2 separate regions of the Homo sapiens genome follow, and region 2 is linked to region 1. Evidence: promoter capture Hi-C in 16 types of primary human blood cells and fetal thymus (Javierre and others, 2016). All regions are on one chromosome and are shown on one strand. Each heading gives the region's core, a stretch centred on a gene start or on the middle of the fragment in contact. The rest is flanking DNA. Distances are from core to core; before and after follow the strand shown. Region 1 holds the start of AGPAT3 (1-acylglycerol-3-phosphate O-acyltransferase 3). Region 2 overlaps AGPAT3 (1-acylglycerol-3-phosphate O-acyltransferase 3).

Region 1 (3,172 bases), core at 284-2,783:
TTCCACGAGCTTTGCAAATCTTAACTCCTTTTTCAAGAATAAGGGAACTGTGAGTAGGACAGGTGCACGGTACTTTCATTTTATTTTAGTCTAAGTATTTTCTGAAATAATTTGAGGAGGCTTAAAGGGAGGTGCAAGCTGGGTGCGGGGGCTCATACTTGTAATCCCAGCACTTTGAGAGGAGGAGGTGGGAGAATACTTGAGCTCAGGAGTTCGAGATCAGCCTGGGCAACACCGTGAGGCCCCATTTCTACAAAAAAAATTTTTTTTAAATTAGCCAGACATGGTGGTGTGTGCCTGTGGTCCCAGCTACTTGGGAGGCTGAGGTGGGAGGATCACTTGAGCCCTGGAGTTCAAGGCTTCAGCGAGCTATGATTGTACCACTGCACTCCAGGGTGGGCGACAGAGCAAGACCCTGTCTCAATAATAATAAAAATAAAAAAAAAAAAAAGGAAAAAAAGGGGCACAGTAGACAGTACCAGTACTTGGTATTTTAAATGGTTTTCAAATGAAGCCCACCCAAGCTCAGCAAGTCCAGCCGGGGCCTGAGGACCTGAGCAGGCGCCAGGTCACACAAGGTACCGGGCGCAGGAGGCGGAGCCCGCAGCGGGCCCTGCCCTGACAGCGGCACCTGCGCGGCCTCCGCAGGTTCTGGGATCGGCCGCTGGCCAGGTGCAAGGGAGGGGGGACGGCAGCCGCTGTCCTGGGGCTGAGAGGGCTCCGCGGTCTGGAGGGGACGGCGTCAGCGCCCGCGGGGGTTCGCAGGGCAGCCCCGGGGCGACCCCCACCCCCGCCACGGTCAAGTGTCGATACAGTGTTGCCAGCCGGGTGCCAACTATGAATAAGTCCAAGGGCGCGGCACGTGGGCCGAAACGCGATCCTTCCGCGGAGCCGCTGCGCGCAGGGCCGTCCCCACCGAGCCCGCCGCGCGGCGACCCCTGACGGCGACCCTAAGCCCCGGCCGACCAGGGCAGGAGCTCGCGCGCGAAACTTCCCCGGCGCCCGCAGGAGACCCCGGCAGGGGAGATGGCGGGGCCCAGGCAGAGCTCGGAGGCCCCTCCCGGCCCCACCCCGCGCCCCGGCCCCCTCTGCCCCCGACCCGGTCCGGGGGAGCCCTCGCGGGACCCCAGCCTGGTCCTTCGCCGCCTCCCCCCGTTCAGCCCCGACCCCCCTGATCCCCGCGCCCCCCGCGGTCCCGGCCCGCCCCCTCCCCCAGCCCGGGCCCCAGCCCCGTCCGTTAGCGGATCCCACGCAGGCTCCGCGCCCGGCCCCGCCGGCGCCCTCGGCCCACACCTCTCTCCGCGCGCGTGTCCCGCCGTGTCGCCCCCGTGTCCCCTCCGCGTCCCCCCCCGCGCCGTCCCCCCGCGTCCCCCCCCGCGTCCTTCCCCCGTGTCCCCCCAGCGTGTCCCTCGGCCGCCCCGCGCGCGCCGGCGGAACTGTGGGATCGCCGCGCACAGGAAGTGGCGGCGGCGGCGCGGCCGAGGGCGGAGGGCGGAGGGCGGCGGGATGGGGGCCGGGGGCGGCGGGCGCCGCACTCGCTGAGGCCCCGACGCAGGGCCGGGCCGGGCCCAGGGCCGAGGAGCGCGGCGGCCAGAGCGGGGCCGCGGAGGCGACGCCGGGGACGCCCGCGCGACGAGCAGGTGGCGGCGGCTGCAGGTGAGCACCGAGGCCCCCACCCGAGGTCGGGCCGCCCCCCTCTTCCCCCACGCCCCGCCGCCGCCCGAGGTCGCCCTCCCGCCGCCGGAGGTCGCCCCTGCCCCAGCCGTCCGACCTCGGGCCGCCCGGGGCCCCGCGCCGCAATGGGCCGGCCGCGCTCCGCGGGGCGCGGGGCCTGGGAAGGCGCGGGGCCGGGAGGAGGTCTGGGCCCGGGTCCTGTGCGCCCCCCGCAACCCCGGCCTCCCCGGCGGCCTGGTCCAGCGCGAGGCCCCGGCCGCTTCCCGCAGCAGCCTCGGTGGCGCTGGGCCCAGCGGGGAGGCCCGGGGGTTCGGGGCGCCCGGGAGGGGCCCGGGCCGGGCCGAGGGAGGGCGAGTGGGTTCCCGCGGGGACGTCCCATCCCTCCGTCCTGGACTCTGCTCCGGGCCCCGCTCGGCTCCCCCGTGGACAGGACGCGCCCGCCGCCTGGTTTCGGGGCGCGGCGGACCCGGGACCCCCCCCAGGGGCCTCCTCCTCGCGCGCCCAGGCCAAGGGAGCAGTTTCACTTTTGCCGCTCCGCGCGGGGAGGGCTGCGGGGCCCGGGGTTGGCTGTGGGTTCGGCCCGGAGACCGGCGGCGCGTTTGCACCGGGCGGGTCAGGGGATGGGGTCAGTCCGGGGGCAAGAGCCGTGGGGGCGAAAACCCACTCCTGGCCACCCCAGGACCCTTGGAACATTGGTCCCAAGTACTTAGGAAAGGAGGGTTATTAGTATTTGAAGGCAGTTAAAAATGGTGCAGTGTTTTTTTTTTTTTTTTTAACTTTGAGAGAAGTTTAGTGACATGGGGAAAATGCTTTTATAAATGGCTTCCCAGACCTTTAAAAAAAAAAAAGCACAATTTTAAAAGCTTTGTCTAGGAGAATACTTGAGCAGTTGGGTTCTTTTTCCTGGGAAACATGATCTTAGTAGAAGAAAGATGTGGGCTGTTGGCCTCCAGACAGAGGGTGATGAGCATGCGGCTCTTATTAAAAATGAAAGCCAACGCCGAGAGCCTGCTGGGGGCTGGGAGGTGGGGCGGGCGGCGGGCCCAGGCTGCTAGAGGGACCCAGGATCCTGCAGCTTTTAAATTGCAGGCGCGGCTGCTCCGACTCGACTCGCTTAGGAATTGCTGAACTTCGTCTTCTCAGTTTGAAAGCTTCAGAGGGGTCTCCCGAGGATGCTGAGCACTCTCTTGATTTGGCCACTTCTTTGCCGCCCCCCCTCCCTCTTTCCAACCAATCCTCCTCCCCCACAGAGTTCGGCGTTAGCCTGTGCCTGTTACAACTCGCTTCTTGTATCCATTTCTGGTTAGTCTTAAGTATCTTCTTGAGGACATTGTCTAAAAAGCAGCTGCATGCCATTGACATTCAGACAGAACAGGGCCCCTTGGCCTTAGAAGGTGTAGGGGCCTTAAATATTCTGAAGGTGACTTCATGGAGTGGCCGCCCTCTGTGGTCACCCTACCTGTGCGTGGCCCTGTCCTGGCGTATCTGCCAGGGGGAC
Region 2 (3,172 bases), core at 240-2,739, 44 kb after region 1:
TCCCGTAATAGCAGAGCAAAGGGATGATGGTCTTCGGAGGAGGGCGCTGGCTCAGGCACCCCAGGGACGCTTTCTCTTTCCGTGTGCTGGAAGACCTGAATGCTTCAGAGCCTAAATTATGTGGGAAAAACGTGTGTGTGTTCCAAAGCTGGAGTGAGATTTCCAAGGCTTGTATGAGGCACTTGGCAAGCTTCACTTGTGCCCTAAAGCACAAAATACCAGGGCTTGGGGTGAATTTGGTGATATCCAGAGCTGGCAGCTTTGTTGGGGCTGGTCACTCCCCAGCCCTGAGGACTCTGGGGAAGGAATGCCTGTCGTGAGCGGAACCAGCCAAGTTCACACATGGCCACCTGCCAACCTGACCTGTGTGTTGAGCCCCGGCCCTTCTCGATCAGAAAGGAGGTGTCCCGATCAGGGGGAGCACATGGGCTGGGAACTTGTGGAACCCGGTGTGTATGACTCGCTCCGTGATTCATAACAAGGCATTTGCTTTCCTGGGCCTTGGTGACCTGTCTGTGAAATGGGCACAGGAGCCCAGCTCTTGCATAGACAGAAGGTGAGGGCATGGGGTAGGGGGAGTGGAGCCGTGGGTGCGGCACTAGAAGGATGAGAAAGGACCTATGGCCTCCAGCTCCGGGTTCAGGGCTGTGTCCAGGTTCAGGGGACTGTGAAATGCCAGCAGCTTCTAAAACCTTTGGGTTCTTTAAGAAAAGGCTAATTGCAGAGGATGCTCACTGATGAGGGCGAGGATCAAAGCCCGTGCTGCGTCAGCGTGGTGGCCTGCCAGCTCCAGGCTGCAAAAGTCCCTCGTCATTTCATTTCCTTCCATCCCTGTGGAGCGAACCCTGTTGTTTGCATTTTTTGGATGAGGGTACAGGCTCAGGCTCAGCTCACACGGTCCCCGGATGCCCCTGCTGTGCTCCGAGGTTGGCCTGCGTCTTTTGCTCCTGGGTCCTTACGTGCCCTGTCACAGCCAGCCCTGCCCTGGAGAGAGAGGCCACTGGGAAAAACCCTGAGAGCAGGCGGGCCTCACCTGAATAGGACTTCATTCGTTGATTTTAATTTTTACTTACTATTTTTTTTCTTTGTACAACAAACATTGTCTGATAAGGGACTTCACTCTTCCAACTTCAAGAAAGGCTCCTCCCGGGTCTGGGTGCTCCAAGGGCCCCATTGGGCCGATCCTCTGACATCACTTGGTGTGGCTTCCTCGGAAGCTACAGGCCCCTCGGTCCATGGCCCCTTCACGGCAGGCAGTGGACTGGCCGGCGGTGGGCCACTCATTTTTCATACACATTTTTTTTTTTTTTTTTTTTTGAGACGGGGTCTCACTCTGTCGCCCAGGCCGGAGTGTGGTGGCGTGATCTCGGCTCACCGCAAGCTCCGTCTCCCGGGTTCACGCCATTCTCCTGCCTCAGCCTCCCGAGTAGCTGGGACTACAGGCGCCTGCCACCATGCCCGGCTAATTTTTTTGTATTTTTAGTAGAGATGGGGTTTCACCGTGTTAGCCAGGATGGTCTCGATCTCCTGACCTCGTGATCCACCTGTCTTGGCCTTCCAAAGTGCTGGGATTCCAGGCATGAGCCACTGTACCCGGCCTTTTCATACACATTTGAAGAGGACTTTAAAGTGTTCTTGAGTCTTTCCTGGATAATGAAAGGTATCCCGACGGTGCTGTTCCATCATATTTGTCTCAGGTCTCGTCTCTCCTTGCTCTGCCCTCGTTGCAGGAGAGCCTGGCTCCCAGGCCTGCAGGCCGGCTGTGGATCTCCGAGAAGCCACTGGGTGGGACTTTGTTCTCTGCTGCAGGGGGAAGCTGTGAGGGAGCACTGGGCCCCCGCCCTGAGCATTAGTACACCGTCCTGCAGGGTCTATCTGAACGCTAGCCCGGTGGGGAGGGGGGCCCAGGCCTCATCATGGAGAGGGTGGTGGTGAGGAGTAAGCCCCCAGGTCTGCACCAGGGTGCCCCAGGACACCCTGGACTGGGAGTTTAGGAGACCTAGGACGCATCCTGGGGAAGTGAGGCAGGTGTGTGGTGTCTTGTTCTTTCCGGGTTAAAACCCACAGCGTGACCCGTGGCTGGGATCCCCCTGTTCGTGAGTTCTCAAGGAAGGGGAGCCTGCAGGGTGTGACTCACACCTATCTCAGGAACACAGAGGACAGAGAGGGATGGAGACGGCCTCCCTCTGTGCTCCTGGCCTCTTTCTGGGGAGTGCGTGTTCAGCCCTGATGGCAGCCAAAGGTTTGTGCCAGGCTGGTCCTGCGCCCGTGAGAGGGTGCTGGTCTGCAGAGATTGGTGACAGATGCCCTGGAGGAGGGGAGTGGAGCCACAGGTGTCTCCCAGCGGCTGTGGCCGCGCGTATTGCCAGCAGCAGTCTAGGGTCCTAATACAGTGAGGTGAAGGAGGAGGTGAAGTGCTAATACAGTGAAGTGAATTAGGTGAAGTCCTAATACAGGTGAATTAGGTGAATTAGTGAATTAGGTGAATACAGGTGAATTAGTCCTAATTAGGTGAATTAAGTGAATTAGGTGAAGTCCTAATACAGTGAGGTGAAGGTGGAGCGGAGGGCCGAGGAGGGCCGGCCTTCCCTCTGGAAGCAAGTGTGCTGTATGCCCACGGGGGACTGGAGGAGGTGGGTGTTCCGGTCACTGCAGTTCTTACATCTTTGCTGTGTGTGGGAGGAGGAATTATCTTTGTGCTCTGAAGTGTGATGTATATGAGGGGAGAGCAAAGGGCTCAGACTTTGATCTGCCAAGCTGTGTCTCGTGAAGTCAGGTATTCTGCAAGGGAAGCTTTTTTCTTAAGAAACAAATCTCATCAGTGTTCAGGACAAGGCTGTACTGTTCCAACCACCGCAGAGATGGAGGGTTGGAGGTTAAGGCGCACAAGTTAATTTTCCATTTGATATTTATGTTTTCATTATAAAAGTAATACATGCCTATGAAAATTAAACACAGAGCCAAATCTAATAAATAATTAAAATTGCATTCTTTACTCCATTCCACATCCCACTCCGTTTCCTGGAGGGAACCACTGTAAGCGGTTTGTGGTTTATCCTTCTAGAGTTTATAAAAAATACACATAAGAACATACATACACCGACAGAGTTTCCAAAAATGCACCTACGTGTCATGACATCTCTCTGCAAAACCTGACTTTAATTTGTCTTGG

Evidence for each region. Contacts are between HindIII fragments. The CHiCAGO score rates a contact against its expected background, and 5 or more counts as called.
Region 2: a contact is called between a fragment that was not itself captured here and the fragment with the promoter of AGPAT3 in region 1, in 1 of 17 cell types (erythroblasts). The highest score is 5.1, in erythroblasts.

What each region holds. Positions count from the first base shown.
Region 1 is chr21:43,863,690-43,866,861 of GRCh38, forward strand. It overlaps AGPAT3 (1-acylglycerol-3-phosphate O-acyltransferase 3), which reads left to right and starts at 1,534. Exons shown (of 10, transcript NM_020132.5): 1 at 1,534-1,656. RefSeq lists silencers at 593-952, 1,503-1,852, 1,973-2,292. The HindIII fragment of the contact is 5,864 bases long and covers 1-2,535 here.
Region 2 is chr21:43,907,997-43,911,168 of GRCh38, forward strand. All of the region lies in intron 2 of AGPAT3 (1-acylglycerol-3-phosphate O-acyltransferase 3), which reads left to right. Among named protein-coding and RNA genes, the nearest start is that of AGPAT3, 44 kb to the left of the region's middle. RefSeq lists an enhancer at 376-877. The HindIII fragment of the contact is 2,603 bases long and covers 189-2,791 here.